7 separate regions of the Homo sapiens genome follow, and all the other regions are linked to region 5. Evidence: promoter capture Hi-C in 16 types of primary human blood cells and fetal thymus (Javierre and others, 2016). All regions are on one chromosome and are shown on one strand. Each heading gives the region's core, a stretch centred on a gene start or on the middle of the fragment in contact. The rest is flanking DNA. Distances are from core to core; before and after follow the strand shown.

Region 1 (4,096 bases), core at 168-2,667, 730 kb after region 5:
GCTTCTTGCCATAATATTTACTTTTATTCCATACAATGTCCTCTGGTATTTTTTCTTTCTTTATAAAGCTTATGTCAATGTACTAAATTGATTCTAAAATCTATTAATGAATCCTTATGGGCCCTGCACTACAGCACTGCACTACACTTCCTGCACTACAGCACTGCACTACACTTCTTACCTCCTGTTTAAAGTTCTTTTTAATTGCTATCACTGTCCAGTTTTGTTACTTCGAGATGGAGCTAATGTCCACCCATTAAAAAACTGTGCTTAAATAGCATAAACTCTTGAAAGCCCTACCTTAAATCTTGAATTGATCTGTTTCTCCAGAAGAACTCTTTGGAGGCACAGCCACCTTACTTATTTATATTGTATCAAAAACTGCAGATGTTCTCCTTGGAGAACAAACACATCATTGTTGAAAGGAATGCATCAGTTTTCACTGTTTCTGCTGCATCACTGACGAACAGTAATAGCCGGGCAGGTTTGGGGCAACAAGAGAGGACCCGAGCAGCTGCCCACGGTGCTGAAACTGATGATGAAACGACAGTTTTGGAAATTTACTATTTACTATTGTCAGATTAGGACAAAATAGAGGAATTTACCAGACACTGGCAGAGAAAACTGAGTGGCCGCCACCAAAGTTGCATGAGTGCTTCCGGGATACTGCTGTTTGGCTTCGATGTCTGCCCACTCTCTCTTTCTCTCTGGGACAAAGTTATTTAATAAGTGCAAGTCAAGTCAAGTCAAGCATACAGGCAGAGCTGCTGACTGACCGTAGTATCTGGCCCTAGCAGGGGTTAAGTCCCAAACCTGCAATCTGAGCTTCCAGGGAAAGAAAAAGGGGGTGGGGGTAAAAGAGAGGAAGTGACTGCCCTCCTTCTATTCAGAGACAAAACAGCCCCCTCAACTAAAGTCAAGCGATGTGCCCGAGGACGTTGCGGCAGGTACTTGACCAAGAAAAGCCTTCCAAACATGTTTTCCAGGCAGGCTCTTGCAGCCTCAAGAAGGGAATGAGAGAAGCAAAACCGGTAACTCAACTTTGGACACACACAAACTCGCGGAATGAGAGTGCAGGGGAGACTCGGTCCCCCGAGGGCAAGGCTATTTTATTCCTTTTGCAAAAAGCCTAATTGACTTCTCACCCAGCTCTAGAGGAGCAGCAAAGACCTCAGCAGCAGGGCCGACTCCGAGCTCGAGGGCCAACAAGCGGGGTATGTTCTCTGGGCCGCTCGATAACGAGCTGCCCGGCTGCCGCGAAGCCGGACAGGGTCTTACCTTGAAGTCCGGCCCCCGCAACACAAACAGTCTTGCCAGCCGCGTCGCTGCGGGAGAAGTCCCTACCCTGATTTCATGACTGAATATCCGCACCGACCCCCACAGCCCGGAGTACTAGCAGGGACGACAACACCTAGGCGAAGCGGAAGTCCCGCCCCACGCGCCTCATTGGTCCGCACCCAAAGGCACAGAAAACCCACTGGGCAACATGGTTGCCTGTTAAGGCTCTTTCCCACTCTCACGCGGAGTCTCGCTACTTGCTCTAGCCCGGCTCGGAGAAATGCCCAGTTTGCGAGTCTCGTTCTTGGCCGCGTGATCCGTCTTCCCTGGAAGGGAAGAGCAGGGTGGGGCAGGCGTCTGCGGAACTGGAGCGCGGCTGAAGAAGCTGCTCTTGGCAGAGGAAGGGGCAGGCTGGCAAAGTGGATTGGCTGTGGGCGCCTGCCGCTAACCATGTGCCCCTAGAAACGGAGACCGTAGGGTCTGGAGGGCGCGGGACCGAGCGGGCAGGGCCGGTCGGTCTGATCTGCTCCGGCTGTTGGGACAGAGTAGCCCAAGATTCGGCTGCCGGGCTGCCCCCGGGCGGGCCTGGCCCTGGCGCTGACGCGTCTCTTCCCTGCACACTACACTCACCCGACCTACTAAAGAGGCGAGGGCGAGGCCTCATCCGCCCGCCTTCCGTACCGTGCCCAGTCTGAGATCAGAGTGGGTGGGGACCGTGGCCACACCTTAAAGTAGGGCTCAAATTGTTAGAGATGCGAGCGGCCCGAGGTCTGAACGCCAGTCCCCTGAGGCCTGGCTCGGATCCACGCTGGCATCAGCACTCTGGGCCTGACACGCGCCATCCCCGGGGCTTAGCAAAAGTCAAACCATGTGATTCAGGCCCTAGGTCAGCCTTTTAAAACCCTTGCCTCCTTTTGATGAACCAAAAATCTCCTCCCCTGCCGCCCTTCTGATAAGCCTTCCTTTCTGGTTGTCTCAATCTTAAACCAGTCGAAACTTAAATTACCGGATTGTACCATCCACATTGATTAATCATTGCCAACTCGCCACCTTACAAAAGCAGTGTGACTTAGGCAAATATTACAGAGTCCTGAAAGAAATGTCAGGAGACATAGAATCAGGCACTACTTCTGCTTCAAATAATAAGGCACCCTTAATAAGGCCTTTACAGGCTTCAACTCCTTCAACATCATCTTTTAAAAATGGTGGCGAGGAGGCTATCACACAGAGTATTAGTAGAATACCATTGGATGTAACTTGTCACTTTGATTGCTTGGAGAGCCCTGAGTAGGTGGGACACAGCAATGGGGAAAAGACTCTTTCCTTATTGTGTATCCTTTTGTGCCTTTTGAATTTTGAACCTTGCAAATATTACCTACTCAAATAAAATTCAAATACAAGAAATTTAAGATCAAATTTTAAAAAATTAAATAAAAGCTATCAAAGGTACTTTCCTCTTCTGTGTATCCTATGAGTATTCTATGTAGTCTTAACTTTTCATTGGTTGCAAAGACATTCAATACTTAAATCACAATTCTGCCTTTAAGAAAGTCATAAATAAAAGTCAGCATTGGGAATATTACTAAGAAGACTAATTAGTATAAACACATTTATAATATCTCTATAAGCATTTTTTTCATTAAATTATCCCAAATTGGTATATTAAATCAGATTTCTTGCATAACATCAAAATAAATTTTTTTAGGCCGGGTGCGGTGGCTCATGCCTGTAATCCCAGCACTTTGGGAGGCCAAGTCAGGCGGATCACTTGAGGTCAGGAGTTCAAGACCACACTGGCCAACATGGTGAAACCTCGTCTCTACTAAAAATACAAAATTAGCCGGGCATTGTGGTGCACACCTGTAATCCCAGCTACTTGGGAAGCTGAGGCAGGAGAATCGCTTGAACATGGGAGGCAGAGGTTACAGTGAGCTGAGATCCCACCACTGCACTCGGGCATAGGCAACAGAGCAAGATTCCATCTCCAAAAAAAAAAAAAAAAATTAAGTCCACAGAGAGGAGCTTTGGGTTTTGTTGTTTTATTTTTATTTATTTTAGAGACAAGGTCTCACTCTGTTGCCCAGGCTGGAGTGCAGTGGTGAGATCATGTCTCACTGCAGTCCAGAACTCCTGGGCTCAAGTAATCCTCCCACCTCAACCTCTGGAGTAGCTAGGATTACAGGCATGTGCCACCAGGCCTGGCTAATTTTTTTATTTTTTTTAGCCTTACAGTCTGGCTATGTTGCCCAGGCAGGTCTCAAACTCCTGGCCTCAAAGGATCTTCTTGCCTCGGTCTCCCAAAGTGCTAGGATTACAGGCATGAGTCACCACGCTCAGACAAAGAGCTTTGCTTATTCCTTAAAGGCACCTTGAGTACAGAATATTTTACTTCTGGTTTCAACCTGCTCTTCAGATAACAATAGGTATAGTTCTCTCAACTATGAACAAGGTAATGTGTCATTTGTACTGCATTTAGGCTACACTCTGCAAAAACATTTACTCTCCCAACCTGTGCTGAAAAAGGTAAATTGGAAAAAAATATATTGGAAAAATGTATTAATCTTTCTAAAGCAGATTAGACAGTAAGATTGACAGATATCATAATTACAATTTTCAAGAACATGAAGGGTTAATAAGGCACGTGATACTAATATACCACTAATTATCTTTTTAAAAATCAAAATGTGCTTTTAGGGTGTTGTATCTAACAGGTTTTTTTTTTAAACCTTCCTAAAAAGTACAAACAGATAGCACGTAAAAGTAATTGTAGAATCTCCTGCTTCCAAAATATTGTAAGGCAACAACAACAAAAAAAGAC
Region 2 (3,966 bases), core at 798-3,297, 720 kb before region 5:
TTGTTTTGTCTTTTTTTAAACAAGAGAAAGTAGACAGATACATGTTGGCAAATGCTAACTATCCATATTCACGCAGAGACACAGTGTTCTGAGCATAATACACAGAGAAAGGAAGAAAAGCGCTAAAATTCTGTGCACTAATACACAGGGGCTTAGCACCATGCAAATTCCAGCAGAGCAAAGGGAGGTTTTTCTTTTTTCCCCAGAGAGTTCAGTGGTATTAAATCCATACAGTTTTTGTTCAGACAAGAAGGGATAAAAATGAATTTGGAACAGAAAGGGGTAGAGATCCTTTTCCCATTGTATTCTGCTCAAGTTATTTTCCCCCCAAATAAGTTGAGAGCTGTGGTGTAGAGAAAAAAAGACCTCAAGAACAAGGCAGCTGAGCCCAAAAGAAAACACACACACACACACACACACACACACACACACACACACACACACGACAGCTTGCTCCCAGGAACTGGAGAAAATTTTTAAAAAGGTTGGAACCTATCAGTGTTCTATTAGTCATTTTCTCCTTCACCCCCTTTCTTTCCTCCCTTTCATCATCATCTTCATCTTCTTCATCTTCATCCTTATCCCCTTTCTTTATCAATATCTTCCCATCCTTCTTCATCATTTATCTCCTTCCCTTTCTTCATCATCCATATTGAAAACCAAGTAGTACTGTAATGGATTTGTCCAAGTATTATCTTTGATGAACTCTCCCAACTCAACAACACCTGCATCAGAACGGTCAGTAAACCAGGTAAAGAAGCTCTCTGGTTCTTCGTGCTGCCTCTTCCTGCTGACTTTACTCTGCGTTTGACTGGAACGTTTTCATTATATCCTTTCCAGATTTGCATTTGACTTCAGTGGACTCTAAAAATAGATCACCACTCTCATTCAGATGAAATTCCTTGGAGAGAACTTTATTTTCAAACTAAAGATTTTCATCAAAATAAAAATCTTTCTGTAACCTGATTTAATACCTCCAAATTCTGTCACTTCAACTCGTCAAATAATACAGTGCCTCTTTGTCTTCCTCCCCAAGTAATGTAGACACTTGTGGATGGCTGACAAATGCTGTTACCCAAAAATTTGAAATTTGGGCAATCAATTTTGACCTCTTCCAAAAAATGGTTGGCAGAATTTGTTATACTTCTGTTCTGCTTTCACAATCTCCCCACTGGCTTGTTCATTAAGTCTCTGAATTTTGTGTGTGTGTGTGTGTGTGTGTGTGTGTGTGTGTGTGTGTGTGATGGAGTTTCACTCTTGTTGCCCAGGCTGGAGTGCAATGGCACGATCTCAGGTCACTGCAACCTCCACCTCCCAGGTTCTAGTGATTCTCCTGCCTCAGCCTCCCAAGTAGCTGGGATTACAGGCATGCACCACCACACCTGGCTAATTTTGTATTTTTAGTAGAGATGGGGTTTCTGCATGTTGGTCAGGCTGGTCTCGAACTCCCGACCTCAGGTGATCCACCCACCTTGGCCTCCCAGAGTATAGGCATAAGCCACCGCGCCCAGCCTGTATTTCCTTTTGTACGTCGTCAATATATTCAATTGCTTCTTTCTGTTCTTTTTCTCCCTTCTTCAGCAAGCCCAGAGAGGCCAATGTCTCCTCCGGTCTCAGAGCAGGAAGTAGTCTTGGTTTTGGGGGTCACACCGCTAGGAAAGTTCAAGAACCAGACCACAATTCTTCTTTCTCGTCAGGAAGACGCTCAGAAAACTTAATTTTTTTTGTTTTGTGGCTAAAAAATTTTGCATACTAAAACCAACCGAAGGTTGGGAAGGTATTTTACATTTTCCTCTAGAAGCTTTGTGGTCTTAGTTTTACCTTTAGGTCTATGATACATCTTAAATTGCTTCCTTGATTCCTCCATTTCATCTGTTAGTAGCTCTCTGCAGAGAACAAGTGCTTTGTAAACACTGCTGACTCACTTATAAATGCCCTATAGGTTAGAAGAAATGTGTTTTCAAAGCTTACTAAAGGCTCTATGCTCAGCCTCAGTAACATTCTAGATTTAAAAAACCACTAATGGGAATGAACTCACAAATTAGACAAAATTTGAAACAAATTAGGCAAAATTTGACAAAATGTCTAACTCACAAATTAGACAAAATGGAGAAACCTGGAAGCTTCCATTTAGAACTCATGTTATGGTTCTGCCTAGGACATGCCTTGACTAGGGCAGGGATAATCCAGTTTCATTTCTGTACAAATAGCAGTTTAACTCAGCACAGAAAATGGAGAGCAGTATGCTCACCATATTTTCTTCCTCTTTGTATATATGTTAGAAAATTACCATGTCATTAGCATAGACTGAATTCTTTTTAACAAATTAGGCCATAAAACAGTAATTCACAGCAGCTCTGTTGAAAACTGACTTATATATATATATAAGTAATAAATGTTACAAGATATTACTCTCAAGAGACATTTTCTATACCCTAAAACACTGGCATTATTTTATAGGATTTAGGTAGCTTTAAAAAATGTTTTATTAATGCTTTGTATTGAAAACATGTAAGCTGAAAACATAAAAAGAAGTATTCCCACTGTTTAAAGACTACCACCGATGCATATTAAAACAGAGCATTTCCAGCTATTTCCTTGAGACTTTACTAAGAACGCATAAGACTAAAAAGAGCAAAAATTACCCTTGTCCATTTTACTGGCATTTGGAGAAATTCATAAATTAGGATAATAGCGCATTTCTTAAGTACTTAGCAACTGATAAAATACTCTACGTACAAAGAAATTTTAAAAAGCTATTCTCAAACACTGTATTTTGACAGCTGTTTCCTTGATATTATTCAGCCAAAACATGCTCCATGTTTTAGCAAGGTTCCTTTCTTATTACTCTGCCTTAGTGCCTAAGTTTCTACACCACAATTAGGCAATTCTTTTTAATGAATTAGGCCATAAAACAGTAATTCACAGCAGCTCTGTTGAAAACTGACTTATATATATAAGTAATACATGTTACAAGATATTACTCTCAAGAGACATTTTCTATAGCCTGAAACACTGGCATTATTTTATAGGATTTAGGTGGCTTTAAAAAAATGTTTTAAATTCATAGGAAAACTATTTACATCTAAGCAAGGACCGAGGCTCTCATTTGTAGCTTGCACTTTTCTGTTTTTAACAATTACCCAGATTCACAAGCTAACATTTCAGGGATAATCAATAGTGGCTTAGAATTTAGGGTGAAAAAAGAGAAAGTAACATATAACCTTGATATTGTTTCTTTCTAAAAAGAAAAGGGGATTTGTGATTAGCTACTTAAATTTGATTACATTATACACTTAAATTCCTTTTCTCATGAAGTATTTCAATGACTACCATTTCCTTAATAGCACTTCATTATTGTTATGCCTTTCTAAATGACAATGTACAATCCTTTTCACAGCCAAAGGTCAAAAAGAATAAAGAAAGCAAAAATCTCCCAGTAAGGAATACTGTCATAAGTCACATCTTCCATGAAGTGTTTAGTTGATAGTTCCTGTAAACAGTCAAAATAAACTTCACTTCAAGAATGTAAGGAGTTCTAACACGCAAGAAATGAACTCTAGAATGAGCTGCCCAGACAATTTTAAATTAGGAAAAAGTCTTTTGTACTTTACAGTATAGATGTAATTTGTCAACACTATGTATAAAGTAAATCCAAACATCCCATAAAATCCATTTTAAACCATACTGAAAACACTCCAGGACAGAATGGATTGACTTCATGTGAAGGTGGGGGTTTATAAAAGTTACAGACTCCTACAACATGCTGGGCATGACAGCATACCAATTCCTTCCCAGGAGAAGGAAGTTTTCCCTTCGTAGGACATCTACAGCACTTTTTTGCTCTGACCTTAGTCTTTCTTCTTACCAGGCAGCTAACTATTTCCTGCATGTATGCTTTATTTTTCCCTGTGCCAAGCCACCAAGTCCCAAAGCTTTCCTCCCATGGCTGGAGTTCCTTTCCAC
Region 3 (3,683 bases), core at 700-3,199, 600 kb before region 5:
GAGGAGAACCACACTGGACACCTTTCTTGGATTCTCCCTTTCACTCACAGGTCTCCAATTCTCATTTTCATTTTAACGTAAACATGCTAACTGTCGCATTTAGGGATTTTTTTTTCCCCCAGTTGTCCTTTTTCCCTATCAACCCTGTACATGCATCTCAAGCTAAGGCATGCGGCAACCACAGAATCCAATTTTAGCCCTTAGAACAAGAATTTCTTATTTGACACATCAGTCACACCACCAGCTTCCCCCACAGCTACAGTTTCGGGGGCTTCCTTCTAACAGAGGGACACACTGAACATGTGCCACCAACAGGCTCAGCTCCTTCTCCAGGGCATGAGATAGCAGTCTGAAATTAATGTTGGAATTATCATATGGTAAATTTCTGTCATCTTTTCAGATTTCTATATATACCTGAGTGAGCAACAGCCTTGGCTTTGGTGAAATATTCGTATCATAGGGAATAACAGGGACAGCATTTTTACAAATATTAAATTGGTGCACTTAATTAACCACTTAGGACATATCCCCACAGCCTTCTACATGTGACACCAAGTCATGAGTTTTACTGCCCCAGGACAGGAGGACTGTAGGAAGATGTAAGACTTGTCTTCTAGCAAGACACACAGGCCACCACTTTGCTTCTGTGTAGAGAACACACCTCTGTGCACTCCTCTGGCCAGGTCTTGGGGGACAATGCTGTAGAAGGGAGAAGAGGAGACATGGGGAAGAAAGGGAAGGCACCCACCCTCCTGAAGATTCAGGGGAATGGGAGCAAAAGAAAAACGGAGGACAAGCACTGGTGAAAGATACTTGCTGCTAGCCCCACTCTGAAGACACAGAAGTTATTTAAATTATTACATCAGACATTTCACGACCCTCACCTCCTCTCCCAGCTTCTGCTGCAGAGGCAGTGGGAGGAAGCGCCCAATCATCTGAGGAGCAAAAATAAACAAACTACATTTTCTTTTTTCACTTTGCATTGGAATTTAATCCCATGATCAGCTGTAGTTAGAGTAACGTTTCAATAGTTAAAGTGGCATTGTGCTTACTATTTAGGTCCTAAATGCAGTTACTGTAAAGTTTCTATTTCTGAACAAGCTTTAGACAGCTAAGAGTCTTTCATTAGAACACAAATACGACAGACATCATATTGCCAGATGACCGTGTAAAATAACCCTAGAGCAAAAAGCTCTAAAACACAGCAAAAATGCTTACACAGTACACAGACCAGCCAGATCCACCCCGGCTTCCCTCTCATTCCCTGCTCCGGAACTCACTCCTGTGTGATTTTTCTGGAGACTAAAGAATGATGCATGTTATGTTCATTTAATTAAAGCTATTTGCTTTAGCTGTGTTAGATTCACAAAGACATTCCAACTATAATTTATTGACCCTTAACTGTTTTCTACCCGGCATACCCTATGAATTCCTTGACTACAAAATAACAGATTTGAATCAGGCTTTAGAGCCATGTTATTCCAGGGATTTCACTTGGAAGTTTATACACATTTGGAAAATGACTTTGAAACCTAATGTACTTCTTTTTAATTAAAAAAAAAAAAAGCTTTCTATTTATCATGGAATTAACATTCCAGTGCAAATTGCAAAAATAAAGAACCTAGCTTTTATAAATAAGTCATTAAAAGGTTAGCTTAGAGCCATTTAAAAAACAAGGCCACTGTATGCACAGTATGGAGCAAGCACCAATTTTTTAAAGGACTGTTAAAAAATACACAAAATCTACACTTAAAAATACATGAAATATATCTCAGAGGATATGCATGAAACTGGTAAGAATTATTGCTTCTAAACTATGTAAGGAGGGGTCTGGGATAGAGGTAGGGGGTCTGAAGACAGTATGTTAGAAAGGAGACTTCACTATCCCTTTCTGAACATTTTGTGTTTTGGACCACATTTTGTAATATTACCTATTAGAAATTTTAGCTCATACAAGAAGCTATCTTTTCTTAAAATTCTCTTGTTTATGCTTTAAGCAACAGATCTGCAAGATGCCCAACAAATTAAAACTCATTAAACATTGAGCTTTTGGAAGCATTCTTCATACCTTAAGCAAACACCATTCCCCCACTCAGCTTCACACAGTTGATCTTCATTTGATGTGAGCAGCATGCAAATTCTGTAAATCAAACAGGACCCAGAAACAGAAGTCTAGGATGGAATTTCCCATTCTTCCACTTTCCACGAACTTTGTCCCCTCATTTGTGAAATGGAGGCACTCAACTACCTCAGAGAATTTTCAAGAAAACTAGCCCAAATGAGAAGCTACGAAACCAGCCTGTAAACTGCCAAGACTTTGAACAAGCTTATTTTGTAGTATACTATCTTCCAAGTATGCACGTATATACCAATAGCCATAAAGAGGGTAGGGAACCATGATTTACCAATTAAATCAAGGTTCTTATTAACATTTTATCATAGAAGATGACTGATTAATTCAAGTGGGAGTGAACATTTACTAGGACTGACTAGAAAAAACTGTTGAGTAGCAATGGATTCTTAACAGAAAATGTGGGACTAGACCATTCACCCAAAGTGACAAGACCAGAAGAAATGACAGTAGTAAAGACTGCAGCGAATATACTATCTGGAACAGAACTATAAACTTAATTCATTTGCTCATAAGTTGCCAAAGAGGAAGATGGAAGATAACTGAAGAACCAAGAACTACTTAAGATCCAAAAAACAGAGTAAAAAATCCCAATTCTTACTTAAAGGCTAGATTTCTTTAAGGCATAGCTCATATTTTACTACTACAGAAAACTTTCCCTAATTTTTCCAGTCGATCCATTATTTCCTATATGATTACAGGTAATTAGATACTAATGTATTATGCTCCGTTTTAGGTGTGTATCTTGTAACCACAAAAAGATGGTATCCCCTTACAGACAAACAGCACAGCCCCCATTTGGTTAAAAATCTTCACAGCATCTACCCCAATGCACAGACTCTTGATAAACCTTTTTTAAACTAAATCACTCCTTATTCAAGTGAAATACAGTAATTTCTTTCAATGCATTTCTCTAAGAAATTCAAAAACTGGCCAGGCCCAGTGGCTCATGCCTGTAATCCCAGCACTTTTGGAGGTCAAAGCAGGTGGATCACGAGGTCAGGATTTCGAGACCAGCCTGGCCAACACAGTGAAACCCCGTCTCTACTAACAAAAAAAAAAAAACAAAAAAAACAAAAAAAAAAACGCCAGGCACGGTGGCTCACGCCTGTAATCCCAGCACTGTGGGAGGCCAAGGCAGGTGGATCACAAGGTCAGGAGATCGAGACCATCATGGCTAACATGGTGAAACCCCATCTCTACTAAAAATACAAAAACTTAGCTGGGCGTCGTGGCGGGTGCCTGTAGTCCCAGCTACTCGGGAGGCTGAGGCAGGAGAATGGCGTGAACCTGGGATGCGGAGTTTGCAGTGAGCCGAGATCGTGCCACTGCACTCCAGCCTGGGCAACAGAGCGAGACTCCCTCTCAAAAAACAAACAAACAAACAAACAAACAAACAAACAAAATTATCTGCGTGTGGAGGCACGTGCCTGTAATCGCAGCTACTCGGGAGGCTGAGGCAGGAGAATGACTTGAACCCGGGAGGCAGAGGTTGCAATGAGCCAAGACCAGGCCATTGCACTCCAGCCTGGGCGACAGAACAAGACTCTGT
Region 4 (3,926 bases), core at 813-3,312, 650 kb before region 5:
TCCTCAACTGACTTGGGGATTAGACTACAGGCTATCGATAAAGTTTCCATCCATCCTTAAAATCCTATGACTCCAAAATTTCTATCACATGCAAAAGTATAAAGGCAGGAAGGAACTGTACACAGAATAATAGAGACCCCACCAATCCCAATCTTAATCTGGGATGTAAGTAGAGATGGTAGAGAGAAACTAGGTTATGGAAGCTTTGAGAGCAAAGTTGGTTTAAACTTATTGGATGGGCCTAGGTTTTGTTTTTAAATGTGCGTGTGAGAGAGAGAGAGAGAGAGAGAGTGTGTGCACGTGGTTGTATGCATAGAACAGCAAAATATACGAAAAGCCTAAACTTATATTCTTAGTATTTTGGTAAAAAGTTAAAAATAGTTTATTTCAGCTTTATTACATAAAAATTGTTTAGAACATAGTTCCTGCCCACACAGTAAGCCCTTAGTAAAGACTGGCAGATATAATAATAATCATTATCATTTCTATCATCATCTTACTATTGTTACTGAGGCAGTGTTTTGGAGTGGTTTTGAATGTGATTCTGAGATCAGACTGACTGAGCTGGAATCCTGGCTTTATATCTTACCAGCTACACAACCTTGGGTAAGTAACCCCATTATGCCTCAATTTCCTCATCTGTAAAGCAGGGACAATAACAACACCTAGCTTATGGAAATGATAAGAAGTTAAATAAGTACATGTAAAGTATTTGGCATAGTGCCAGATACAAACCAACTGCTTAATTATTTTCATCGAGTTTGGTAAAGAATGACATTATTCATGGACTCTAACGTGCTAACTCAGGTAGGGAAAGAGAAAGGGCATGTAGCCTTTAAGCAGCACTTGAATTTAGAAAGCTTTGTGTACATCTGCCTTATTCATCTGTTTGCATACATTGTTTCATTACAAATGCACACAAAGGATCATTAATTAATTGGGGAAATTAAAATTTAGAAAGATGTCAGAAGTTTTATTCTCTTATTAAAAGGCACTTACAGAGTAGCTGATCTGGCCTTCAATGTTGGTCACTATAACTTATATTTGCTTCTTTTAAAAAGGTTGTATTATAATATAAAATGTTTCCTTGCTAAAATACAAAAATAATCTTCAGGTCTTTAAAACAAAAGAACACTGTTTAATGTGCAAAAGGGGGACCCACACCAACAGGCAGCACCAGAAAGATTACTAATGTACCCTTAGCTCTAAGCATGTGAGTTTGAATAGACCAGGTCAAAGGGAGCCCTATCAGTTTAACTTGAGCTTACAAACCCGCTCAATGTTCCAGATTTGGGAGGGACATGACAAGACTTCATTGTCATTATCAGTGGTGATCACAGTAGTTCTAAGGGTATGTCTTATGCTTCTGGGCTTTTAACTGCTTCAAAACCCACAATGAAAGAAAAAAAAAGCGACTCAAGTGTTGAAGTCAGATGTTTTGATACTAATATAAATAAATCTTTCTCCAAGGATTTTGTAACCAATGAACATACATCCATGTTCTGGTAGTTGTGGGTTTTTTTGTTTGTTTTTTTGGTTTTTTTCTGTTTGTTTTTGAGACAGACTCTTGCGACCAGGCTGGAGATTTTCCATCAACTCCTTACTTCCCCTGTCAGCCTGGGTTCTCCCAGCCTTAGGAGCCACATGAATCTATGGAAAACAAAAAACTAAAACAAGAAAAAAACCAGAAGGCCTCATTGAAAGCTCTTCATGCTCAACCACAACCCTAGTTTCCTCTCTCTACTTCTCAGAATCTCGGTTCACTTATCTCCTCTGCAAACTAACTTCCAACCCAACTGGTAACAAGAACTACCAGAATGGAAAAACCTGAGGTTGAAAATATCCCTACCAAAAGCAAACCTGCATGGGATTTCCTGAAAGTCACAAAATCAGACAATGGAAAACCCAGGCATCTTCACAATCTAGTATGTTCTCACCAGGCCATATGGTCTGGTAAGTTCACCAATAAAATTCTAAGAACTGGAAAGACAACGGTATTGTGAAGACCAATGTCTTTTAAAGAAAATAGTTGCTAATTTTAATTACTAACCTCCCTTTCCTTGTTTCTTTTACAGAGTCTTAGAAATTTTTTCTTTTCAATAAGCAGTCATCCTTACTTTCCCTCAAGATGACAAACAGTTCGTTCTTCTGCCCAGTTTATAAAGATCTGGAGCCATTCACGTATTTTTTTTATTTAGTTTTCCTTGTTGGAATTATTGGAAGTTGTTTTGCAACCTGGGCTTTTATACAGAAGAATACGAATCACAGGTGTGTGAGCATCTACTTAATTAATTTGCTTACAGCCGATTTCCTGCTTACTCTGGCATTACCAGTGAAAATTGTTGTTGACTTGGGTGTGGCACCTTGGAAGCTGAAGATATTCCACTGCCAAGTAACAGCCTGCCTCATCTATATCAATATGTATTTATCAATTATCTTCTTAGCATTTGTCAGCATTGACCGCTGTCTTCAGCTGACACACAGCTGCAAGATCTACCGAATACAAGAACCCGGATTTGCCAAAATGATATCAACCGTTGTGTGGCTAATGGTCCTTCTTATAATGGTGCCAAATATGATGATTCCCATCAAAGACATCAAGGAAAAGTCAAATGTGGGTTGTATGGAGTTTAAAAAGGAATTTGGAAGAAATTGGCATTTGCTGACAAATTTCATATGTGTAGCAATATTTTTAAATTTCTCAGCCATCATTTTAATATCCAATTGCCTTGTAATTCGACAGCTCTACAGAAACAAAGATAATGAAAATTACCCAAATGTGAAAAAGGCTCTCATCAACATACTTTTAGTGACCACGGGCTACATCATATGCTTTGTTCCTTACCACATTGTCCGAATCCCGTATACCCTCAGCCAGACAGAAGTCATAACTGATTGCTCAACCAGGATTTCACTCTTCAAAGCCAAAGAGGCTACACTGCTCCTGGCTGTGTCGAACCTGTGCTTTGATCCTATCCTGTACTATCACCTCTCAAAAGCATTCCGCTCAAAGGTCACTGAGACTTTTGCCTCACCTAAAGAGACCAAGGCTCAGAAAGAAAAATTAAGATGTGAAAATAATGCATAAAAGACAGGATTTTTTGTGCTACCAATTCTGGCCTTACTGGACCATAAAGTTAATTATAGCTTTGAAAGATAAAAAAAAAAAAAACAAAAAAAAACTCAGTATGAAAAAATACAGTTAGCTAGCAAATATGGACAGGTTTACTTAGAAATCCTGTTTCTAAATGCAAGTCAAGCTTTATTGTTAGGCTTGCTGCTACTCATTAACCCAAATATTTGTACAAAAAACTAAAGAGTCTCATTGAACGAATGTAAAATCCTGCAATATCCTTGAAATCCAAAAGAGGTCCATGACATAGACCCAAAGGTATTCATGAGTTATTCATTTAAATGCCTGGAACTGACTTCTTGATAAAAATATAAAAAATAATTTCCATGTAAGTTACCAGAAAGCCCACCAGCAACATAATTTTAAAGCCTTTCAGATTACTTTTAAAAAATGCAGCTTACATATAACAACTTGTGCCTATTTTATTTCTAATCTATCACTTCAAAAGATGGTAATCTTTCAACTCATTATTCCTCCAATTTTTAATGTCGAATTTTTTTCTAACACAATAACCAAAAGCTTTTATTTATAAAAAGGCTTGAAAAATATAGACAATCTTTAATGTATTATTTGTAATTATATTCTACCTGTAGGTTATAATAAAGGCTTCCTGATGTTAGTAATAATACATTTAGTGACTTCTCATTTCTATTTTGAAGTAACATGAAACACAGAGGCCCTGTAACATTTCAGAGGGAGTTGTTAAGTTATACTAACTACTGAAACTAGTGTTTTGGAACTAGAAAATCACATCGATAGCACATCAATGGTAAAACAGCACCAGTCAGATGGT
Region 5 (4,018 bases), core at 1,375-3,874:
TTTTTCACCTGCTTTGGCTTGTCACTCCCAATTAAGAGTTGGGGTTAACAAAATTTACTGGCTAATCTGCAAATTATTCACAGCTCTAAAATCCCACGAGTCTAAATTTAACAAAAGATTTTGGAAGTAAAATAATCTATTGTTGAATGAAATATGTACACTGAGAATGTTTAAAAGATTAAACAGTTTGTTCTAGTGAAAGAAAAATGGACCACAGAGTTGAACAATCTGAATAAGTATAATCCTAATCCTGCCAATTTGCAGTGTGAATCGGACCACTTAATCTCTCTGGGCCTCTAAGAATATGAGAATATGAAGAGTAGACTGAACAGACAACATTTAAGCTCTTACAAAGTCCCTGATTTTAAGCACTGTAAGACAATTGTCATCCTTGGTTAATTTACTATAAAGTGGCTATCCTTCATTAATTTAAAAGGATAGTCTAAACAGACAAATCTAATCTAGATCTCTTGTATGCACAGTTCAAAATAGGGTTTGCGCTCTTATGAGGCTCTAATGCCCCCACTGATCTGACAGGAGGGGAAGCTCAAGTGGTAATGCTTGCCCAGTACCAGTCCGGCCCAGGGGGTTGGGGACCCCTGATTTAGAGTATCTATTGTCTACCAGGCACTGCACTAGTACTGAGAAGACAGATATGAATAAGACCCTGTCGCTGACATTGAAGGACTCACAGTCTAGCAGGGGAGAAAGGCAAGTGAATGTCTAATTATCCTACTTAGTAAGTGAAATAAAATTTCAAATATATTTCAGGTACAAAAATAGCCCAGGAAGTGACTGACTCTATCTGGGTAGAGTGACGAAAGGCTTCACAGAGCAATGATATCTAAAATGAATTTTAATTTCAACAGATGAAAAAGAGTTTGCCAAATCAACAAGAGGCATAGGATAGTACTAGACTGAAGAAACAGGTTGTTCAAAGGGACTCAGAAGCAGTTCAGTATTGATGGAGCACCAAATAAGATGGGATGGCAAGGAAATAAATGAGTCTCAAGAGCAATTCAAAGATTATAAATGGTTACATAACTATGCTACATAGGATGGAATCTACCCTGTAAGCAGAGAGGAACTACCTACTGTAGGCATTTTTAAAGGAGGGGTTATTTATCAGATTTTAGAATGTAATTTTTTCATTAGAGTTCAAATAAGCATTTAGTATTAAAAATTGTGAATAACAAGCTACCTTTACAAACCTAAAAAAAAATTTATTATGTAACTTTGCCTTTTAAACAGTCTTTGCCTGGTATATTATCTAGAAGATTATACTCGGCGTTTGATAAATGATGACTAAACTGCAGAAGACAGACTGAGCATCAGTGGGCATGGCGCTTAATAACAAAGATTTTAAAATGTAAAAATAGAAATGTAGACTGGCAAAAAGTGCAAAAATGTTTTAAGGTTCCTTTCGCGGGGGGGAAGGGAGGGAATAGCCTCCCTCCTTAAATGCAGACAACCTTTCTCTTAATGACTTTTTCCTTCTATATAGTTATCAGAACTTAACCAAAACCTTCTTTTCCTTCCCGACTCTCTTTTCCTTACGTAATACTCATATGCAGACTCTTAGCCACACCCTAGTAAAGCAACTTCCCCAGCATTTTCCAATCTAAGTTTATTATCTCCTCCAACACTACAGTCTTTAGCTTCAAAATTTCAAGAGTCCTCTAATGTTCTATTTCTAATATGCTCATAACCATTTCAAAATCAAATGTTGCTAGAATATCTCTATCATGCTCACTGCTACACCCTCTCCCAACCACACCTTCATCATTTGAAACCTGCATTACAGCTCCACTCTCCCTATTCAGTCCTACAAACCTCATTAAGGCAGGAAGGCCAGAATCTGGAATTACTTAAGTCCAGGTGTATTTAAAGTGCGTGATCATTCTAGAGGACTAACTCATGTTTGTCTTTGTTCTTATTGTAGACCTAAATGACTTCACAAGGGCCCGTGTAACACCAGTATTGCAGACCCATGTGTCACAAATTCAACTAGCACATTGTTTTTCTCCCCCTTCTTCTATTTCTGTAGAAGATGAATCCGCAGGCAAGAATGATGGATGGGTGAAAGGGAGGGGGAATACGAAAGCCCAGAGGCGGAGACTTCACTTCCGATTGCCACGCTATATCAAGAAAGCCAACAGTCTGGCCTTTCCGCAAGCCACAAGAAAAGGCAGATCAGACTCCCCGGCTCCTCGGGTAGTTCTCAAAGGCAAAGACAAAAATAAGAAACTAGTCTGAAGAAAGAGAGTCCCTCGCTTCTTCAGAACTCACCTGTCAAGAGCGGCGTGGACGGCGCCATGTTGTCCCGGAAAGAGAAACCGCTCGGGTGAGAGTTCACCAGGGCCGAACCCGGCCCCTACACGTCTCCTCATGCGTGGAGACAGCGAATTGGTGTTTCCGGAGCCATCAGCCTCGGGGCCAATTCACTTCCGGTTACGGAGTGACGCGGAAAAGGCGCCCAAACGCGCACGCGCAAATCTAGGGCGACGCTTGACAGAGCTTGGGAGGGTGCGCCTGCTTTCGCCCTCCTTCTCCAGCGGGAGGGGCGCGCACTTCCGCGGGGCGGAGTCCGTCTAGTGCTGACGTTGGCAGCCGAACCCAAAGTAGATCGAGGCGGCGGGCTGCACATTCCCGTTGTTGCGTTGCGTTTCCTTCCTCTTTCACTCCGCGCTCACGGCGGCGGCCAAAGCGGCGGCGACGGCGGCGCGAGAACGACCCGGCGGCCAGTTCTCTTCCTCCTGCGCACCTGCCCCGCTCGGTCAGTCAGTCGGCGGCCGGCGCCCGGCTTGTGCTCAGACCTCGCGCTTGCGGCGCCCAGGCCCAGCGGCCGTAGCTAGCGTCTGGCCTGAGAACCTCGGCGCTCCGGCGGCGCGGGCACCACGAGCCGAGCCTCGCAGCGGCTCCAGAGGAGGCAGGCGAGTGAGCGAGTCCGAGGGGTGGCCGGGGCAGGTGGTGGCGCCGCGAAGATGGTCGCCAAGCAAAGGATCCGTATGGCCAACGAGAAGCACAGCAAGAACATCACCCAGCGCGGCAACGTCGCCAAGACCTCGGTAAGGAAAGAGCGGGCGCCCCTCTGCGTTCCGCAGCCGGAGCTGAGTCCGGGTCCCTGGGGCCGCGTCGCGTTTTCTCCCGGATCCGGCCGACCGTGGGCTGGTGCCGTGGAGGGGTAGGGGCCCGAGTCTGCGAACCGCCAGACTGTGGGGGCTCGGGAACGGAAGGGGAGACCTGTGAGGTGAGGGGGCCGGCGACCGGCGTGCAGGCGTGGGAGCCTGGGGTCCGAGTGGTTTCTCTGCATCTGAAATGGTGGATTTTCGCTTTTGCAGAGAAATGCCCCCGAAGAGAAGGCGTCTGTAGGACCCTGGTTATTGGCTCTCTTCATTTTTGTTGTCTGTGGTTCTGGTAAGTGGCTTGGGGGCTCCCATCAGGTAGAGTCTTGGGTTGAAAGGATTTGGGATGACGTGGTGACCGGTCAGTAGTGAGTCCTACCTGCGTAGTTCTCAACCCACCTGCCGAGGACTCCACATAATTCTGTTTCGTCTGAACCAAATTACTTGTTCCACATATGCACAGAGGGTGGTGCTCCAGAAACTTCTCCCAGCTTAATTTGTACTCACAGGAGATCAAAAAGGAGGTCAGGTCTTGGTAATGATCCAGTTGGAATAAATGTTAAGACCGGACAAAACCTAACGAAATGAGAATTTAGAATGTTTTGTAACTCCATTATCAGTCTTTGCAAAGAAAATTATAAATATGTACTATAGATGTTAGAACTTGATTTAACATATACCAGAATCTAATGTCTTAATGTCAAAATTGAGTATATTTTATAAAATAAAGCTTGTGCAAAGAATTGATTCACTATAGAGGAAATTACCTGATTGGCATTTTAATGTGTGAGTCAAATGTTTTTAGGTTAATAAAAGAAACGTTTGATACATGGTTTAAAAAAAAAGTGTCGGGGTAGCCTGCTGTCCCCTAAGAGTAACAGACACTTGCCTTT
Region 6 (3,838 bases), core at 53-2,552, 580 kb after region 5:
TGAATATGGTTGTACATACACAGGGATGTACAAATATGGGAGATAAAGGATTTGGGGCTATTTTGGTAGTTGGACATAACCTAGAAATTGTAAAACTATAATAAAAACCTGGTATCAGTTTCTTGACCTGTTAAGGCCAAAAGACGGGGCAAATGAAAATTTGGTGGTTGAGTTGTGATGATTTGAGATTTTACAATAATACACATTCACACTTTACATGTAAAGAACTATTAGGGTAACCAATTATAGAAGGCAGTGACCAAAATTCTGAAACTCTTAATTAATCTGTAAGTAGGTGAAGGGGCAGTGTGTATGTGTGTGTTCAGAGAGGAGGTTGTGGGTAGAGAAGGTGGTAAAGGGTGAGTGTATCACTAAAATAGTATATAATGAAACTATTCATTGGCTTTCTACCCACAATTTCATTAGAAAAATACTTAGGGAAATACATACATGCGTACTTTGCTTTGTACTTAGTTCTAGGAATTTAGCATATGGAAATGAAGCTATACAAATTTGTATACCAGAATGTCCATCATGCTGCATTACTTATGACATCCAAACTTGGAAAATATCTACAAAGTTCAGCTTTTTAAGGGGTATGGTTTGAATAAATGATTTTAAGTCCATAGGACAAAATAGTCATTGAAGAATGACATAAGAATGTTTACCAATGAATGTTAATAATATAAGGATATAAACATGTCACATGACAGTGCACATACATACAGTATTAATATACATGTATTTTACATATGTATTTCTGAAGGCAATATATTAAGATAAATTTATCTCTGGAGTGAAAGTTTCCAGGTGACTATATTTTGATTTCTAGTGTTAATATTACTTTTGTAATCAAGAAAGTTTTAAATGTTTTTTAAATAGAAATTGGATTTTAATTGCACCTACTGTCCTGTTTGAAAAGCTATACCATGAAATTATAGAACATTTCAAGTGAACATTCACAGAACCTAGTAACAGCCCTAGCCAGTGCTGCTAAATAAGACACTTCGTAGATTTTTTTTTACAGTTAGTTAGTAATTATTTGGAATTTCAAAAAAAAATTTTTTTTTCCATAAAACTCCTAACATAAAGGGACCAGGTCCTTATTCTAAACTTTGGATTAAAGACTGAGGGAATATAACATCTAATACATACTTAACCATTACCGTGACTTTTTACTTTTTTCCCTTTTCCTATTTTAAAATATTGTTTTAGGTTTGTTTTTATTTAATAATAATTATTTTGAAGGCTATTACTTATTGCGCATTGATGTGCCAGATACTGAGCTCAATGTTTTCTCCTCACACCCTCTTAGGTTAAATGAAAATTATGCAAATGACCAAGCAGGTTTAAAAAGGTTAGGGCCATACAATTATGTCAAATTCCAAACTCTGCTTAACTACCGTGGTAACCTTTGATGTCCTGTTTCTCAGGCCTGTGGTTCTTTAATTTTTTATAAAAAAGGGGAAGAGGGATGAGGTATCAGATAGCTGATGTTGAATTCAACCGTTTATTTTCCAAAGTAGAAATACCTATTTATTTTTTTCCTGATTATGAACATTATTTTTTAAAAGGCAATTTGGAAAGTGAAATTTTCCCTCGATATACCATAATTTACAACAGGGTACCAAAATGTACACTGTTTATTTTTGGAATAATTTTGGCAGCAGTCTAAACTTTTTGGGATATTACCTAACTGCATGTGAATGGTCAGTTACCTTGTATAAAGTCCTAAGGTGATGTGATTTCTCTGACCTCAATCATTATCACTTTATAGGATATATATAAATAAGGCTAATATGGTAAGTAATACTACAGTAGAACAGACATTTACTGGATCTTAAAGTGGAAAACATGTTTATTAACATTCAAACTCCCCTCATACAAGGCCATATAAAAATCCTTAGCATTTTGATTATACATTAGTCTACACTTTCTACATAGTTACAATGATGTATAATTTAGCTTTTCATAATACAGTGTTTCAATACATCATTAGTTCTGTTAAACATAAGTCACTTACTTTCAAATCCAATACTTGAACAGTTTCCTCTGTACATAGTTTAGCAGGGCTAATTAGCATAAGATGCTATTTATTAAGAGGTATATGATCTGAGTATTAACAGTTGCTGAAGTTTGGTATTTTTATGCAGCATTTTCTTTTTGCTTTGATAACACTACAGAACCCTTAAGGACACTGAAAATTAGTAAGTAAAGTTCAGAAACATTAGCTGCTCAATCAAATCTCTACATAACACTATAGTAATTAAAACGTTAAAAAAAAGTGTTGAAATCTGCACTAGTATAGACCGCTCCTGTCAGGATAAGACTGCTTTGGAACAGAAAGGGAAAAAACAGCTTTGAGTTTCTTTGTGCTGATAGGAGGAAAGGCTGAATTACCTTGTTGCCTCTCCCTAATGATTGGCAGGTCAGGTAAATGCCAGAACATATTCCAACTCAACAACTCTAGGTAACTTTATGGAGGTGGAAGCTGGGTTAGTTCATGCTAGGTGGCTGTAGCACTGACCTCATGTATAAAACGCAAAACACTTAAATACTGTGATCTAGGTCTTAATTGCAAGCTATACTGAGGATTTTTTTTTTTTTATGTTTTGGCTATACTTTCATTCCAAAAGAAGAGCTGAATTGATGCTTGAGTTACAGCACCAGTCTATTATTAGTGAATGAAGTATATTCTTGGCAGATAAATACCAGATCAAAAGTCCTGTTTCAGTAATTTGATTAAACTGTAGAATACTAAAAAATAAGTTATTTCTACAGAAATCTTTGAAGGGAGCAAAAAATCAAATTACAGTATATACCTAATCATTTTAAAGGGAAATAAACCAATCATCTTCTGAAAGTCAAACAGTATTTGCTATGTTGTAATCCCGTTCACCATTAGGCTGCAACTGGACCACGACATCATGTTCATTAATTTCATTTTCTGCATCACTACTGTCAGTATCTTCATTGTCGTCTTCCTCATAGTCTGAAGATTCTGTCATGTTCTGATGTGAGCGGGATTCCGATAAAGCCCCAAATGACTGGGCACTGACAGAAGCTAAAGGTCTCAGTAAAGGGGTATGTTCTGTCACTTCATTTTCTTCTTGACTACTGTCTGTGTCAGAGTCTGAATCGCCTTGAGAAGGAACAACTTTTTGCTTGCACACTGGACAGGTTTTTTTGGTTTTAGTTAGCCAAGGGTCTACACACTTGCAGTGATAAGCTGTTGAAGCAAAATATACATCTTTAGTTAGTATGCTGCGGTTGATACTTTTATATTTAATCTCTTGCCATATTTATTCAGTGTTCTGTATGTATCATGTAGGGACGGGAAGAAAGTTTATTTTTTATTTTTATTTTTATTTTTTTTTGAGATGGAGTCTTGCTCTGTCACCCAGGCTGGAGTGCAGTGGCACAATCTCAGCTCACTGTAACCTCTGCCTCCTGGGTTCACGCCATTGTCCTGCCTCAGCCTCCCTAGTAGCTGGGGACTACAGGCGCCCGCCACCACACCCAGCTAATTTTTTGTATTTTTAGTAGAGACGGGGTTTCACTGTGTAAGCCAGGATGGTCTCGATCTCCTGACCTCATGATCTGCCTGCCTCGGCCTCCCAAAGTGCTGGGATTACAGGCGTGAGCCACCATGCCCGGCCTGAAAGTTTATAAATTTTTATAAATACACCTCCATCCTTGAATGAGACCACTAATTAGTACAGGGCCTGGCTTCTGGTGTGCTAATAACTATTTTCCATCTCTTCCCCTGGAATATGGAACCTAAATATAAATTACTATATGTAAATTCAAAGCAGTACGTAATTACTCATACCATGGG
Region 7 (4,069 bases), core at 362-2,861, 710 kb after region 5:
TTGAATTCCCAGGTGTTGTGGGAGAAACCTCGTGGGAGGTTAATTGAATCATGGGGGCAGGTCTTTCCCATGCTATTCTCATGAGAGTGAGTAAGTCTCATGTGAACTGATGGTTTTATAAAAGGGAAGTTCTCCTGCACATGCTCTCTTGCTTGCTGCCATGTAAGACATGCCTTTGCTTCTCCTTTGCCTTCTGCCATGATTCTGAGGCCTCTCCAGCCATGTAGAGCTGTCAGTCCATTAAACCTCTTTTTCTTTATAAATTACCCAGTCTTGAGTATTTCATCATAGCAGTATGAAAATGGACTAACATAGTAAATTGGTACCAGTGGAGTGGGTACTGCTATTAAGATACCAGAAAACTTAGTTTAAAAGGGAAGTGACTTTGGAACTGGATAACAGGCAGAGGTTGGAACAGTTTGGAGGGCTCAGAAGAAGACAGGAAAATGTGGGAAAATGTGGAGCTTCCTAAAGACTTGTTGAATGGTTTTGACCAAAATGCTGATAGTCATATGGACAATGAAGTTCAGGCTGAAGTGGTCTCAGAAGGAGATGAGGAACTTATTGGGAACTGGTGAAAAGGTGATTCTTGATATGCTTTAGCAAACAGACTGGTGGCATTTTGTCCCTGCCCTAGAGATTTGTGGAACTTTTAACTTGAGAGAGATGATTTAGGGTATCTGGCGGAAGAAATTTCTAAGCAGTAAACTGTTCAAGAGGTGATTTGAGTACTCTTAAAAGCATTCAGTTTTATTCATTCACAAAAATACGGTTTGGAATTGGAACTTATGTTTAAGGGAAGCAGAGCATAAAAGTTCAGAAAACTTGCAGCCTGATGATGCAATAGAAAAGAAAAACCCATTTTCTGAGGAGACATTCAAGCCAGCTGTAGAAATTTGCTTAAGTAACGAGGAGCCAAATGTTAATTGCCAAGAAAATAGGGAAAATGTCTCCAGGGCATGTCAGAGGTTGTCATGGCAGCCTCTCCCATCACAGGCCCAGAGGCCTAGGAGGAAAAAATGGCTTGCTGGGCTGGGCCCAGGGCCTTGCTGCTTTGTGAAGTCTTGGGACTTGGTGCCCTGCATCCCAGCCGTGGCTAAACAGAGCCAAGGTACAGTTTGGGCCCTGGCTTCAGAGGATGCAAGCCCCAAGCCTTGGCAGTTTCCACGTGGTATTGAGCCTGCAGGTGCACAGAAGTCAAGAATTGAGGCTTGGGAACCTCTGCCTGGATTACAGAATCTGTATGGAAATGCCTGGATCCCCAGTCAAAAGTTTGCTGCAGGGGCAGAGCCCTCATGGAGAACCTTTGCTAGGGCAGTGTGGAAGAGAAATATGGGGTTGGAGCCCCCACACAGAGTCCCTACTGAGGCACCACCTGGTGGAGCTGTGAGAAGAGGACCACTGTCCACCAGACGCCAGAATAGTAGATCCACCAACAACTTGCACCGTGCACCTGGAAAAGCCGTAGACACTCAACGCCAGCCCATGAAAGCAGCCAAGAGGAAGGCTGTACACTGTAAAGCCACCAGGGAGGAGCTGCCCAAGACCATAGGAACCTACCTCTTGCATCAGCGTGACCTGGATGTGAGACAAGGAGTCAAAGGAGATCATTTTGGAGCTTTAAGATTTGACTGCCCCGCTGGATTTTGGACTTGCATGGGGCCTGTAGCCCTTTTGATTTGGCCAATTTCTCCCACTTGGAACAGCTGTATTTACACAATGCCTGTACCCCCATTGTATCTAGGAAGTGACTGATTGGCTTTTGATTTTACAGGCACATAGGCAGAAGGAACTTGCCTTGTCTCAGATGAGACATTGGAATGTGGACTTTTGAGTTAATGCTGAAATGAATTAAGACTTTGGGGGACTTTTGGAAGGCATGATTGGTTTTGAAATATGAGGACATGAGATTTGGGAGGGGCCAGGGCAGAATGACATGGTTTGGCTGTGTCCTCACCCAAATCTCATCTTGAATTCCCATGTGTTGTGGGAGGGACCCGGCAGGAGGTAATTCAATCATGGAGGCAGGTCTTCCCCATGTTATTCTCGTGATAATGAATAAGTCTCATGAGATCTGATGGATTTATAAAGGAGAGTTGCCCTGCACAAGCTCTCTTCTCTTGTCTGCCACCATGTGAGACGTGCCTTTCACCCTCTGCCATGATTGTGAGGCCTCTCCAGTGATGTGGAACTGTAAGTCCATTAAACCTCTTTCTTTTGAAAATTGCCCAGTCTCAGGTGTCTTTATCAGCAGTGTGAAAAAGGACTAATACAATAGCTGTATGAAAAAGTCCTTATTTGGGGAGCTATCTATTATAGTAAAGTACTTAGGAAAGAAATGTCATGATATCTGTCATTTAAAGCACTTCAGAAAAAAACACACTATAAATCTAGGTGAAGATTACATTGAGATTCATTACACTATTTCTCTGCTTTTCTATATGTTTGAGAATTTATATAATAAAAAGTTTACTAAATGCATGAAAAATTATTTTAACTCTTCAGTGATCTTTTCAGAAGGCCTTCAGCCTCTTTTCTTAATGTGGCATACAGACATAAAATTTACCATATAAAAAATTTTAAAGTATACAGTTCAGTAACATTAACTATATTCACATTGTTGTGCAAATATTACCACAATCCATCCCTAGAATTTTCTCATCTTCCCAAACTGAAACCTGGTACACATTAATTACCCATGCCCCATCCCCTGGCCATTGGCAAGCACAATTTTATTTTCTGTTTCTATAAATTCAACTACTCTAACTACCTAATATAAGTGGAATCATACAATATTTGTCCTTTTGTGACTAGCTTATTTCACTTAGCATGATATCTTGAAGTGTTGTACCACATGTGAAAATTTCCTTCCTTAGCAGGCTGAGTAATATTCCATTATATGTACATACCCCATGTTACTGATCCATTCATCTCTCAATTGACACTTGGGTTGCTTAGATCTTTTAGCTATTGTGAAAAAAATAACTGAGTTCCTGCTTTAAATTATTTGTGGCATATACCCAGAAGTATTGCTGGATCATATGGTAATTCTACGTTTGATTTTTTTTTTTTAAAGAACTGCCATACCATTTTCCAAAGTGGCTGCACCATTTTACTTTCCCACAAATAATGCACAAACAGTTACTATTTCTTCACATCCTTGCCAACATTTGCTATTTTATGTTGTTTTCCTTCAAGACCAGAATGAGATACCACTTTAAATCTATTTTATGATAGACATATATATACAATATATATATATACATATAGCCATACTAAAATACATGTAAAGTGGTATCTCATTGTGGTCTTGACTTGCACTTCCCCAATGATTAGTGATGTTGAGCATCTTTTCATGTACTTTTTGGCCATTTGTATGTCTTCTTTGGAAAAATGTCTATTCAGCTCCTATGTTCATTTTTTAATTGGGTTGCTTGGTTTTTTGCCACTGAGTTAACAATCCCATCAAAAAGTGGGCTAAGGACATGAATAGGCAATTCTCAAAAGAAGATACACAAATAGCCAACAAACAAAATAAGAAATGCTCAACATCACTAGTGATCAGAGAAATGCAAATCAAAACCACTATGCAATACCACCTTACTCCTGCAAGAATGGCCATTATCAAAAAAATTTTAAAAAATGGAGGTTGGCATGGATGTGGTGAAAGGGAACACTTCTACACTGCTGGCAGGAATGTAAACTAGTACAACCACTATGGAAAACAATGTGGAGATTCCTTAAAGAACCAAAAGTAGAACTACCATTTGATCCAGCAATCCCAGTACTGGGAATCCAGCAATCCCAGTACTGGGAATCCAGCAATCCCAGTACTGGGGATCCAGCAATCCCACTACTGGGGATCCAGCAATCCCAACCCAGGAGAAAAGTCATAAAAAAAAGATATTTGCACACACGTTTATAACAACACAATTCACAATTGCAAAAATATGGAACCAGCCCAAATGCCCATCAATCAACTACTGGATAAAGAAATTGTGGTACACACATACACACACACACACACAAACACACACACACACACACACACACACACACACAATGGAAT

What was found. The method cuts DNA at HindIII sites, captures the fragments that hold promoters and counts their contacts. A CHiCAGO score of 5 or more calls a contact.
Region 1: the fragment with the promoter of RNF13 here is called in contact with the fragment with the promoter of SERP1 in region 5 in 10 of 17 cell types (non-activated CD4 T cells, fetal thymus, naive CD4 T cells and 7 more); the score reaches 13.8 in non-activated CD4 T cells.
Region 2: a contact is called between a fragment that was not itself captured here and the fragment with the promoter of SERP1 in region 5, in 1 of 17 cell types (naive B cells). The highest score is 5.2, in naive B cells.
Region 3: a contact is called between a fragment that was not itself captured here and the fragment with the promoter of SERP1 in region 5, in 2 of 17 cell types (erythroblasts and naive CD4 T cells). The highest score is 6.3, in erythroblasts.
Region 4: a fragment that was not itself captured here is called in contact with the fragment with the promoter of SERP1 in region 5 in 1 of 17 cell types (total CD4 T cells); the score reaches 6.5 in total CD4 T cells.
Region 6: a contact is called between a fragment that was not itself captured here and the fragment with the promoter of SERP1 in region 5, in 2 of 17 cell types (total CD4 T cells and naive CD4 T cells). The highest score is 5.0, in total CD4 T cells.
Region 7: a contact is called between a fragment that was not itself captured here and the fragment with the promoter of SERP1 in region 5, in 1 of 17 cell types (neutrophils). The highest score is 6.1, in neutrophils.

The regions. Positions count from the first base shown.
Region 1 is chr3:149,810,536-149,814,631 of GRCh38, reverse strand. RNF13 (ring finger protein 13) reads right to left here and starts at 1,417. Exons shown (of 10, transcript NM_183381.3): 1 at 1,279-1,417. RefSeq lists enhancers at 1,574-1,683, 1,549-2,060 and a silencer at 1,894-2,043. The HindIII fragment of the contact is 6,716 bases long and covers 71-4,096 here.
Region 2 is chr3:151,266,675-151,270,640 of GRCh38, reverse strand. The region is part of intron 16 of MED12L (mediator complex subunit 12L); the gene reads right to left. All of the region lies in intron 1 of P2RY14 (purinergic receptor P2Y14), which reads left to right. It also overlaps the pseudogene SETP11. Among named protein-coding and RNA genes, the nearest start is that of P2RY14, 9.9 kb to the left of the region's middle. RefSeq lists an enhancer at 1,724-1,793. The HindIII fragment of the contact is 157 bases long and covers 1,969-2,125 here.
Region 3 is chr3:151,140,701-151,144,383 of GRCh38, reverse strand. The region is part of intron 5 of MED12L (mediator complex subunit 12L); the gene reads right to left. Among named protein-coding and RNA genes, the nearest start is that of MED12L, 57 kb to the right of the region's middle. The HindIII fragment of the contact is 759 bases long and covers 1,570-2,328 here.
Region 4 is chr3:151,197,589-151,201,514 of GRCh38, reverse strand. The region is part of intron 16 of MED12L (mediator complex subunit 12L); the gene reads right to left. GPR171 (G protein-coupled receptor 171) reads left to right here. Exons shown (of 3, transcript NM_013308.4): 2 at 518-606; 3 at 2,076-3,683. The coding sequence starts at 2,129. The coding sequence ends at 3,088. Among named protein-coding and RNA genes, the nearest start is that of GPR171, 3.7 kb to the left of the region's middle. The HindIII fragment of the contact is 2,400 bases long and covers 863-3,262 here.
Region 5 is chr3:150,545,102-150,549,119 of GRCh38, reverse strand. It overlaps SERP1 (stress associated endoplasmic reticulum protein 1), which reads left to right and starts at 2,624. Exons shown (of 3, transcript NM_014445.4): 1 at 2,624-3,068; 2 at 3,342-3,417. The coding sequence starts at 2,985. EIF2A (eukaryotic translation initiation factor 2A) reads right to left here and starts at 2,333. Exons shown (of 14, transcript NM_032025.5): 1 at 2,290-2,333. The coding sequence starts at 2,317. RefSeq lists enhancers at 2,026-2,565, 1,838-3,037, 2,483-3,113. The HindIII fragment of the contact is 4,802 bases long and covers 1-3,857 here.
Region 6 is chr3:149,960,131-149,963,968 of GRCh38, reverse strand. RNF13 (ring finger protein 13) reads right to left here. Exons shown (of 10, transcript NM_183381.3): 9 at 3,833-3,838; 10 at 1,830-3,229. The coding sequence ends at 2,865. Among named protein-coding and RNA genes, the nearest start is that of PFN2, 8.8 kb to the left of the region's middle. The HindIII fragment of the contact is 7,519 bases long and covers 1-3,838 here.
Region 7 is chr3:149,835,627-149,839,695 of GRCh38, reverse strand. The region is part of intron 1 of RNF13 (ring finger protein 13); the gene reads right to left. Among named protein-coding and RNA genes, the nearest start is that of RNF13, 24 kb to the right of the region's middle. The HindIII fragment of the contact is 5,997 bases long and covers 1-4,069 here.